2 separate regions of the Homo sapiens genome follow, and region 2 is linked to region 1. Evidence: promoter capture Hi-C in human tissues and cell types (Jung and others, 2019). All regions are on one chromosome and are shown on one strand. Each heading gives the region's core, a stretch centred on a gene start or on the middle of the fragment in contact. The rest is flanking DNA. Distances are from core to core; before and after follow the strand shown.

Evidence for each region. The method cuts DNA at HindIII sites, captures the fragments that hold promoters and counts their contacts. A contact is called where the count stands out against the background at its distance.
Region 2: a contact is called between a fragment that was not itself captured here and the fragment with the promoter of BTBD10 in region 1, in 1 of the 25 tissues and cell types used here (lymphoblastoid cells).

The regions. Positions count from the first base shown.
Region 1 is chr11:13,460,236-13,466,209 of GRCh38, forward strand. It overlaps BTBD10 (BTB domain containing 10), which reads right to left and starts at 2,987. Exons shown (of 9, transcript NM_032320.7): 1 at 2,857-2,987. RefSeq lists an enhancer at 3,167-3,356. The HindIII fragment of the contact is 2,272 bases long and covers 1,951-4,222 here.
Region 2 is chr11:14,216,353-14,222,176 of GRCh38, forward strand. The region is part of intron 6 of SPON1 (spondin 1); the gene reads left to right. Among named protein-coding and RNA genes, the nearest start is that of RRAS2, 140 kb to the right of the region's middle. The HindIII fragment of the contact is 4,017 bases long and covers 1,154-5,170 here.

The sequences.
Region 1 (5,974 bases), core at 1,737-4,236:
ATTTAGCCACAAAAGGCAGACCTCTTTTTAAAACTGCACAATACACAAATGGGTACTTAATCATTTCATCTTCCTTTTCAAAATTCTCTCCCTTACCTAACTTCCTCTCTCACCCTTATCCCAAGTGAAGACCCCCAACTTGCCCTCTATATGCCTAAAAAACACCTCTTACTTAGCTTTGACCTCTAGCACTCCCATTCCCCATAACCCAACTAGGTATGAATCAGATTATGTGATTAAATTACTTCACATTAATGGGTAAATGAGGCTTAATCCACAAAGGTCAATTCCACACGTCATTAAACTCTACTATGTATAAGGCACTAAGTTTAATCAATTAATATACCTATCCTTCTTACAAGAAAAACTAACACAAATCAATCTTTTAATGAACAATGTAAGGAAGGGGCACAAGAGTGTTTGCTTCACATCACACTTTCTCCACCCAGTTCTTTCCATCCTGTTGCCAAACCCCTCCAATCTCCATCTGGCATGGAATAAAATCCAAGGGATCAGTATTTCTTCCAGTAAGTCAATGCCTAGGAAGACAATGTGGGATAGCACAGCAAACAATAAACATTCAAATCCTGAAATGGACTGTAGAGGGTCTCTTGTATTTAATTTTATATATTAGCTGCAAATACAATAAAGAGCTTCTAAATAATTCAATTTCTGTACAAGATACCTATAAATCAGCTTTGCTCAGAACTCTGAGTTTTTAAACCATAAATACTGAGATGCTTTTTCTTCAGTTATTTCCACAGTTAAAACGTTTATAGTAAATACCAGTTCAAATTGCCCTACTATAACTATACTTAAAGGCTATTAAACTTAACTACTGTTTTCAATTAGATGTGACATTTTTCCCAAGACCCCTTAAGTTTGAAACTCCAAACTTGCTTTAAACCTCCTTTTTTTCCAGTCATAAAATTTATTAATTTTGATTTATAACAGAGCTTCTAAACTGGAGAGGAGAATACAACTATGGACAGGTTTGGATTTGATTCAGTCACATGATATTTTTAATGGTTTTAATTAGTTGTCAATATTTTTAAGACGCAAGACACTGAATGCAAAAATCTAGATTTCCGAGTTCTCTTGAGAATGCTGAAGATGGGGTCCATATTCTTATATAGCACTGATTAGGGGGACCTGAGACTTGGATGTCTCTCTGATAAGGCATAGTGCATTTCCCTCATTTTCATTATCTAACTAGTACCCGAAGGCATGTGAGTTTGTTGCTCATGCTATGGCTTTGAAAGGTGCACAATATTTTCCATATCACTTCCATACTTCCCTAAGTCACCTATTATAAAAAGCCAAAAGCAGACCACAGTGGTTTGCAACTCCATAGTTAATAATTTAAAAAATTCACATGGCTTAGAGGGAGTGAGAAAGAAGAAAATTCAGACTGGTGGAAGGGTAACATAATTACATAGGGTTAGAAGTCTATCTGAAAGCTTTTCTGGGAGTGAGAAAAAAGGTGAACGAACACAAAAACATTGTTGAAACACTAAAAGCTTTCCTGATTGAACACTGTTACTCTCTGGTGGTTCCTTACCACATTCCATGCTTCAGAAACTTCCTTCCTACTTTGTATGTATTAATATAATAGCTGTTAGGTCATACACGCTGAGAAATATTGGGAAAATTTATAAAACACATTTACATCATCAGAAATAATTCTTCTCACACTTTTTTTTTTTTTTTTTTTACCAGTCTTGGTCCACTTTCAAATCCCTTCCCAAGTATTTTCTACTGCTTTCCGCTTTATATTCAAATGACAACTGCAGTCCTGGGTTTCAGGACTGAACTTCAATCCTGGACAGGCTCTCTAATACAGAAACTCTTTTGGCCGTTATGGCTGCATTCTTTATTATATCTCTTATTCCGATTTCCACAGTCTCTTTCATTGAAAATTTATCCCTAACCCCCTCTCTAAAAGATTTTGATCAAATTTGTGTAGTTGGGGGGTTGGGAGGATAGGGGCGGGAAGGAACTCAGTTGTCCAAATACAATTAATATCCTGTGCTGTTTCATTTAGATTGCTAATTTAAATAAAAAGCATGAAAACTCTGCAAGATAATAAATCTTCGTAAAATAATCTTGTTTACTAAGTGCACAAAGCCACAAGCAAGTGAAGCTCTATCTTTCAGCATGTCTGGACTAGTGACTTTTCATCATGGACTCAGAATACTGAGAAAGGAGAAGCAGGAAATCTGTGAGGCCCAGGGACAGTCACACTGGCCCACACTAACAAATTACTAACCGATGTCTCACCTTCCCCCGCCCCATTCCCAAAGATAAGGGTGTCAGGGCACCTGCATCTGAAGAAGAAAGACATCAGAACCTTTTCCGTGCAAGTTTTAAGAAAACAAAGCTTTACCACACGTAAAATGGTTACAACATAAAACCACGCAGCACGTTAGTGGGGTCTCACTCCTCTTCACCCAGAGGGAGGCTGCCCACCACCTTATCCCCTATTGTGATGCGCCTTCCTCAGGATGTCGCTGCGTTCGTCTGAGATGACAGGAAAGGGGCGGGGCACGGGGTTCCTCTGCCCTGGAAAGGGATGAGGGTATCGCCTTCATCCCCGGAGAAAGGCCCCCGGACTCCCAACCCAAAAGCAGCAGCCGCAAAACTCAAGTCTTATCCCGGCCTCTCCTAATTGGGTGCTCGTGGCCGGAGCCCAAAACGCCACCCACGGTACCCGAGCAGGGTCCGGCCGCCCAGACCACCGCCGCAGCAGCCTGGCTCTCACGCCCAGATTCGCCCTCCGCCCCTTTCCTCTTTCGCCCCGGCCAAGCCCAGCCTCCCGCGCCGCCCCCGCCGAGTTCCCCAGCTGAGTCCACTCACTCTCGAACCTGTAGTCCCCCTTCAGTGCCCACACAAGATTGGGGCAAAGGCCGGGGCCAGTGACACCTCCACTTCCTCCTCAGCCAGATCCCTCCGGAGGTGGCTGTGGAGGAAGCCACTGAGGCGGCTGCGCGTAGCGGAGCCGCCCCGGCAGGTTGCAGGCCGGCTCCTCAGCCTCTTACCGCGAGAGCTCACAATGCGAAGAGGCGAGGCCAGCAGCGTTCTCGCGAGAACGGTGCTCTCCGCCCAGGGGTGGGCGGGGCACCGAAGGAGAAGGCAGTTGAGGGCGCGGCGGCCACGGGTGGGATCTCAGGCGCGTGGAGAGGAAGGCGCCGCGCGACCTCTCCTCACAGACATCAGCTCGGGTCAACCGCGGGCCTCGAGCCCGAGTGGCTGAGGGCTGTTACCTTCAAACCTTTGAATCCCACGTTTTCCCCTTGACTTCCTGTCACCGTTAGAGAAAAGTGGACAGCGTCTCGGTCACAGAGTTGGAGAAATAGTGCAGGGACTCTTCAGGGAGAGCGTTTTCCTCATCAAAGCAAACTGCAAAATCGCTTCTGCCGGCGTGGACCTGATGAGAGTCGGTCGTCGTGAGGGACACCCTCTGTTCCCTAACGTCCCCCGCTGCTTATTTTTAAACGCTCGGTTGGCGGGAACCCCTGTGCCAGCTGAAACTCCTTCAGTTTGGCCGCCTAGGAAACACCGAGAGTCACCTACATGGGCTGGCTGGGCAATAAAAACGGGAAAAAATGTAAAAGACACAGTCTCCGCCTTCGAAGCTTACACCCCCGGGGCAAGACCTACAGGAAAATAGATAATCCCATTATTCTCTGATAAAAGCCGAGCTGCTTGCCATGAGCTCTGGGAGCAGACGGGGAGGCCTTGTTGAGAAAGCCTTCACCTGGGAGTGACAATTGCGCTGAATCTTAAGCATAAGTAAGTTCTCCAGTTTAGGGAAGAGAGGGAAGGGCATTGCAAGGAGAGGAAGCAAAGAGGAAGAGGACCTGGTTTGAGTAATTGGGTATGAAAACAGATATTGCAGCAAGAACTTTGTTGAAAAACCTTTAACCACTGTTTAGTTCGGATGAGAACATTCCCAGGCTCCTACGTGTGATACGCAAAGTATTTTCCAAATCAGTGTTTATGCTAAGAAGATGAGCAGTTGAGCTGGACAATTATAAGATAACTTCATCTTTCTCCTGTAAGGACACTTAAATATCAGAAACCTAAGAGAAACGGGTTATTGTCGTAATTCACTAAGTTATTATAGCCAACATTTTGCTAAATTGGAAATTGCCAATAATTTCAAGTTGTCTACATAAGAGCAATCTAATAGGAATTTTGTGATACAGTTTCTCAGAGAAACTCTGAGAAAATTCTCAGGCAAAAAACAAAAACGTCATCAGTCCTGATTTATTATCAAAATTTTCTCCTATAAGCTCTGCTCAGAAGAAGTCATTCTGTAGTCCAAGTTAGGGCTAATGAGGAGCCATACTCTTACATCAAAATAGAAGCTGTCCTTTTCTAAAGAAAGACTCTGGTATTTTGCTGTAGTTTCCACTCACCTTCCTTTGGACACATTATTTTCATATTACATATAAAAATATGTATACTATATGAAAAATACTATGTATACTATAGTTTTATTTGGCTTACCATACTCTCCCTACGAATAAGCCCAACACTTAGGAGGAAAACAAAAAAGTTATTCTAACCCTGCTGATACGGTTTGGATCTATGTCCCCACCTGACCTCTCATGTGGAATTGTAATCCCCAGTGTTGGAGGTCGTTGGATCATGGGGGCAGATTTCCCTGTTTTTGCCATTCTGGTGATAGTGAGTTCTGGTGAAATCTGTTCTTTAAAAGTGTGTGGCGCCCCCCCACCCCCGCCCCACTCCTCCCACCATATAAGACGTGCCTGCTGTACCTTGGCTTTCTGCCATGATTGTAAGCTTCCTGAGGCCTCCCCAGAAGCCCAGCAGAAGCCGTCGGACTTCCTGTACAGCCTGCGGAGCCGTGAGCCAGTTAAACCTCTTTGTTTTATAGCAGTGCAAGAATGGACTAATGCACCTGCCATAGGCCAATTGGGTGTTCTGTTAAGCATAATTTCACATCAAGTTCTTGGAATTTTCCAGGAAGCATTAGAAGAATCATATGAATGAAAGACTTCAGGCAAAATATGGAAACTTTGTTCCATGCTGGAATCTGTTCAAACCATCATATCCTACTTGGATGGGTCCTGGAGCTCATTTCATTCTGCTGTTCTTCAAAAACAAAAGAGAATGGGAGTTGGGAGAAAATAGAAAATCGAATAAAGTTTCTACTGTTCTTTGCTTTAAAAGAAAATTAATCGGCCGGGTTCGGAGGCTCGCGCCTGTAATCCCAGCATTTTGAAAGGTCGAGGCGGGCAGATCACGGGGTCAGGAGATCCAGACCATCCTGGCTAACATGGTGAAACCCCGTCTCTACTAAAAATACAGAAAATTACCCGGGGGTGGTGGCAGGCGCTTGTGGTCCCAGCTACTTGGGAGGCTGAGGCAGGAGAATGGTGTGAATCCGGGAAGCGGAGCTTGCAGTGAGCAGAGCTTGTGCCACTGCACTCCAGCCTGGGCGACAGAGCGAGACTCCGTTTCAAAAAAAAAAAAAGAGATAATTAACCTTTCAAATATTAAGGTAGTAGCACAGTAGCACTGGTAACAGTTATACATTTGGTAGGTAATGCCATAGATTTAGATAATCACAAATCTGCTCTACACGATAATTTGTAAATGCTAGCTGACTGCATAGGCTAAGGTTCAGAACTTTAATGAAAGTCTTTCTTCCACACACCAAAGAGGTCCATACAGAAAGAGAAGTTTCATATAGTAGCAGTGAACAAACAAGGTCGTTTGGTAGTTTGTGTTATAGCATGCTAAGGCAATATTGTTTCAAAGCAGATAAGACCACAGACCCAGAATCCTATTTAATTTTTAAAACCTGGAATTTCTTTGTACTACTAAGTTTGAGCACTGCCATCTAATGGCAGGAACAGGAAAATCACATACACGCAAAAATAACTCGATCCCTATTCAGCAAATACATTTATTAATCAAGCCCCTGTGTAAGAATACCAGAAGA
Region 2 (5,824 bases), core at 1,912-4,411, 760 kb after region 1:
TTCACAAAACAGAAGCAAACAATGTGCAGATGCCTCCCCCCATGAGGAGTAGCTGCCTATTTGAATCTCTCACTGGATGGTAATGGAAATGATCAGTTGGGTTCACTTGGTAGGGTACTCCTTAGAAATAGCTAATGAGGTTTCTTATTGTCTTAGTCTGTTTTTTGTTTCTATAACAGAATACCACAGTTAGCTTCATAGTTCTGGAGGCTGGGAATACCAAGAGCATGGTGCCAGTATCTGAGGAAGGTCATCCCATGGCAGAAGGCAGAAGGCAGAAGTGATTGATTACATGAAACATAGAGGCACCAGGGGCTGAACTTACTCTACAACAACCCACTCTTCAAATAACTAGCCCACTCCTACAATAACAACATTAATCCATTCACAACCCAAATTACCTGTTATTGGACCCCACCTCCCAACAAGGTTGCATTGGAAATTAAGTTTCCAACACATGAATTTTGGGGGAACACATTCAAACCATAACATTTACTCTGAACTTCACAAAGACCACAAAAGAATTAGTTGATAAAGAATGAGCTAAATAGTTGACTAAATGGTTTAGCAATCATAAATATAAAGCAGCATAACTATTGTGTTAAAAGCATTACTATGAGGCAGATATAGCAACAGCATCAGCCTGATCTAACCAAACAATGCCATCTCAGTAGGATACTGGTGAAGCCATTCCCTAGGAGAAGGTGGCGTGCGTCATAGGTGTTTGCTGGACTTTCTTCTGCCTTATTCCTGGTTCAGAGAAACTCAGTGATCCATTTTTCATCCCACTCCAAAGCAGATCAGATGGTTGTCTTGCTTGTATCAGAGCTAATGCTTCCGTGGGGAGAGCTCTCTGTTTCTGCCTGCAAGTGCTCACAGTTCGGTTGTTTCAGCCAGCACCAACATTTGTTTCTTAGATCTAAAAGTAGCCCTATTCCTGTCTGCTTTATATATTGGAGTTCTGAGTATACTTTTGTTTAACAAAATGTGTTCTATTACGTAAAGAAAAAAAAAGATTGATAGCTATTAGCTTAGGAGGCTTCTAGAACTCAGTGCACAGCCAGCTCTTGCTCTCTCATATATTTTTACAAATATCTTCAAGAAACAAATGGCCTTTCCACTGGCTCTTGAGGGATAATTTTAATAATATATTTGCAGAAATATTTGAAATGGAATAAGGGTATTATGACTGTAGACTTCACTTATTTATTGTTGAATCTTGTAGCTTCTGTATTAAAAAGAAAGAAAAAACACTTTTATTGAAGACAGTATGTCAGAAAAAACATGGATTTTTTTTTTTTACTCAAAAAGACTTGTGTTTAAATATAATTTGTGCCACTTATTAGCTCTGTGATCTTAGGCAAAATATTGAGATCTCTGAGTCTCCATTTTTTCATGTATAAAATAAAAATAATAACAATTCCTGTAATATACTGCTATTATAAGGATAGTTAGCTAATTTATGTGAAGTGCCAAGCACAGTGCCTAATAGTATTTGTAACTACTATTTATTGAACCCTTACTATGTGGCAGACACTGTCTAGGTCAATGGTTCTCCCTTGGGGACTTGTTAGAACTGCAAATTCTTTATCAGGCCCCAGCCTACACCTACTGAATCAGAAACCCTGGGGGTAGGGCTCAGCCGTCTGTTTTATAAGCCCTCCTGGTGATTCTGATACACACTAAAGTTTGCAAACCACTGTTCTGAGTGTCCAAGAAATTGAATGTATGATTATCATATTCATATTACACTACAGCTAATAATTTGTGCTGAAACAAATATAGATATGTCCTCTTCTATTTTGTTTGATGACAGCCCTAGATTTTTCCCACCTTAGTCATATCTGTGACCATTCCTTACAAGGAGATAGGCGACCTGGAAAACCCAAATATCATACCTCCTTCTCCCTCCCGAGTCCTCTCTTCCTCCCCTAGCGGGTCTGCATCCTGTCTGTGTCAAGCAGTTTATGAAATACCTGGTGAGAACTCAGCCACTCCAGAAAGAATGAATAGCTCCTCCTGAATGCAGCTCCAGCACCTGGAGTCAGTATCTCCCTGACTTGCCATTATGTGTTCCCATTGGTCCCCCTGATAAAATATGATCTCCCTGAGGGCAGGAACAACATCCTAATGATTTCTGTGTCCCCAGCACCCAGTACACTTAATAGACACCTAATAAATGAGTGGTGAATGAATGAAGTGTCAGCCCCAAATCAGAGGGACATTTGTTCCTGGAGCATTCAGGTGTTAGGCATACCCTAGCAGCCAGTATATTTCTAGTCATGGTGACAAGTAGGCAACGGGATTGCCTAGAGACCCATGAAATGTTATCTGAGCCATGTCTTCATTCATCCATAGGATCAGTTCTGTGCCACAAGGAAAGCTGTGTGACAGTCTCATGGCAGATCAGACCCACATTAGGAACAGCCTAGAAAAGCAAACTGCAAATATCCATTTCTTTTCTCTGTCATAATTTGTTTTCCCAGTTGCTGGCGAGGTTGAAATTAGCTCTGTCTGTTGACAATTTGGATACAATAACCTTTCTGTTTCGTGAATTCTGAACAGTGAAGGACTGAATTCTGCTCTGGGCTGCAGAAAAATAACAAAGCACTCAGTAGGATAGATGGGAATGGAGCACGGACTTAGCTGAGGAAGAATTTGGCCCTGCTCTGGAGCTCTCTTTGAATTTATTATTCCTGCCTTCCATGTCTTTTCATGCTAGGTGGGTGTAGAAAGCCATCCTGCTCACCACTTTGTCCCCCACCCACTGCCACCTATGCTGTCAGCCATTCATCTAACCCACTTAGAAGAACCAGAATGAATATAGATTTCTTCTTTCACACATTAATTTATGGAGCCTTCCTATTTCTTCTCATTGCAATGTTCCTACCTGCTGCAGTCACATTCAATTTTATTGAAAAGCAGCAGGGAATTCATCCTTTGCTGGAAAACTTTGACAATTAAATTCAAACTATAAGGAAAAAGTTATCCTAGTTTCAGTCTCTCTTTAAATCAAAGTGTAGACAGTATGTAGTGGGTTATGGTGAAAGGCCCCCATAATGAGGAGAGCAGGTACCCTCTAAGAGTTGAGGGGAAAAATCGATGCAGATGATATGAGTTAAACCACATACAGAAGTGACCCTGAGATCTGGATTTTAAGTGGATGATGGCCAAATTCCAATCACAACTGGTATGAATCCTCTAAAGTTGAATGTTTGTCATAAAACTGCCACCTATTTGGGTCATATTGTAGCCTGCTTGAAGAAAGATCTAACTAGGAGAGGGTGGTCTGCATGACCTCTAGAAAGACAGGAGTTTGTCGGGGTCTTCTGTGCAGTCCAAGAAGATAGCATGACCAGATGACATGATGTGTTTATCTGCAAGCCAGATCTATTCCCATAATGGGAGGTAAATGCATTTGACTTAGATAGCTCCATGATGTCCATAAAAACCATTCAGCTAAATACCTTTGCTTCAACTCTGTGCTTCCCAGGCAATATTCCATTAAGATTATGGCTTATCATGAAGACTTTCCTCCAACCCAGGCAACATGGTGAAACCCCATCTCTACAAAAAGTACAAAAATTAGCTGGGCGTGATGGTGTGCATCTGAAGTCCCAGCTACTCAGGAGGCTGAGGTGGGAGGATTGCTTGAGCCCAAGAGGTGGAGGTTGCGGTGAGCCGAGATTGTACCACTGCACTCCAGCCTGGGCAACAGAGTGAGCACTTGGATCAAAAAAAAAAAAAAAAAAAACTTTCCTACATATGGAGGCTGTGTTGCCCCACGCCCATAAGTTTACATAAAGTCCACTTGGCATTCCTGTTTCTCACTGTTGGGCATGTCTTCTACATCTTGAAAGTTTGGGTAGTGTGAGCCAGTTCCTCTGGTTGAACCCTTCTGCACATACCATCAAATTCAAGATCTGGACCAGGAAATAATAGGACCACACTCCGGACATGGTTCAGTAAACATCCTAGGTAACAAAACTCTTGAATTCAACTGTGAGAAGGTGATTTTTCTTCCCTATCTCTGTCTTCAGAAGACCAGCGTTAAAGTTGACTGATAATCACAGCCTTTTTTAAAAAAATTCTTACTAAGGTGACATTGTTAGGCTGTTTTGGGCAATCCTTTGAAGTGGTTTTTCCTCCCAAATTTTCTAATTTTTGTTCATTATATATTTGAAAAGAAATTCAAATTGCCTGATAATAGAAAATGAAAACATGACAAGCTATAAACTCTGACCTTAAAAGCATCTCTAATATAGCATCATAAAATATAATTAGAAATCCATTTCAACATCACATTACAGATCTATGACTTACAGGTAATTTCTGTCATTTAAATATGAGGGTGAGCTGATGGCTGAATTGGATTCTTAGGAGAAAAACAATTTCTTCTGCATTAGGAGTTATTAGTTTAATTGAATAATATCTGGATCATACTGGTGGTAATGTTAATGTTATTACCCATTATCTTGGTGATGGTCACACCACTGTTTCCAGGAAAAATATAGCCCATTAACTGAACAGAAGGATTAAAATAGGAACAAAGTGGCAAGCTTTTCATGGCTTATTATGCCAGGGTCAGGACAAAGGAATGGCCCTGACCTTGAAATGGGACAGAGGACCCAGCCTGAGCTAAATGCCTCAAAGAATTCCAAGGGAAGTCCTTTCAGGCATGACAGAGTGCATTTGGTTTCCTCAGCATGTCGTTCTGAACATTTCTACTCATTAATTTATTCATTTATTCACTTACTCGTTCATTCATTCAACCAGCCCATTCATTTATTCAACCAACATATTTTGTGCATCCTCCTGAAACCATGAATGGTGATAGATCATGGAGAGACAAAGATGACTTAGTCAAGGAGAGAGGGTCAAGGCTTATTGAGAACCTGCTGTATCTCAGACATTATAATGGGAGATTTCAGACAATATCTGTTTTATTCTTCTCGAGAATTCAGAAGGTAGGTAGAGTTGTTATACCCATTTTATACATGAAGAAACTGAGGTTCAGACAGGTAAAATGACTTGTCCAAGGCCTAGAAAGGGAAGGAGTCAGAACTCAAACCTAGGCCTGTCTTAATTCAAGGCCTAGGCTATTTCTACTACACCTGGAATTTGGACTTAGAACATAAACACATTTTTAAAACATTATAATACAGTGTGATGAATGGGATACACAGTCATATAAAGCAAGACAGCTGCCACGGCGAAAGCCAGATTTCCACTCTAAGTGACTCATCCGACGTTTTTAGGTAATAGGAAATGTCTAGGTGGCCCTAATATGTCCTCCAAATCTCTTCTTCATCCTCAGCCCCACACCCAGCTCTCCCTCCATCTCCTTCTTATCAATGGGGGGTTCTCTGCTCCCCCCATCTTCACAAGCGAAGGGCATTTGTTCTTCCACACCCCACATGATGCAGGGCAAGAGGAAAGGTCAGGCTCCACCTCATTCTCATCACCTCCTCACCTCTCATTAGAACCGTGATCCTGTGAGCCTCCTAATGCCCAGCCATTAACTAGCATCTGTCCTCCTGGTCTCTGCTACCTACCAGCCTTCTGGTCACTCCCAGCCCTCAGTGAAGATGTTGGCCCTGGGATCACTGTCTTATCCAACCCAAGTAGCTCTTCCTGGGACTAGGACCACTTTCAGCTGCTGTGAATACTGGAGTCATGTTGGCACCATGAGATATTTTATCATCCTATGAACTCATTTGGGAACTCAATGACAGGTGATACAATGGCCTAAGCCCATTTCAAAGAGTATTTCTGACAAAGCTTTGTGTAAGTACAAAAAAAATTTTCAGACCATGCTTTTTCC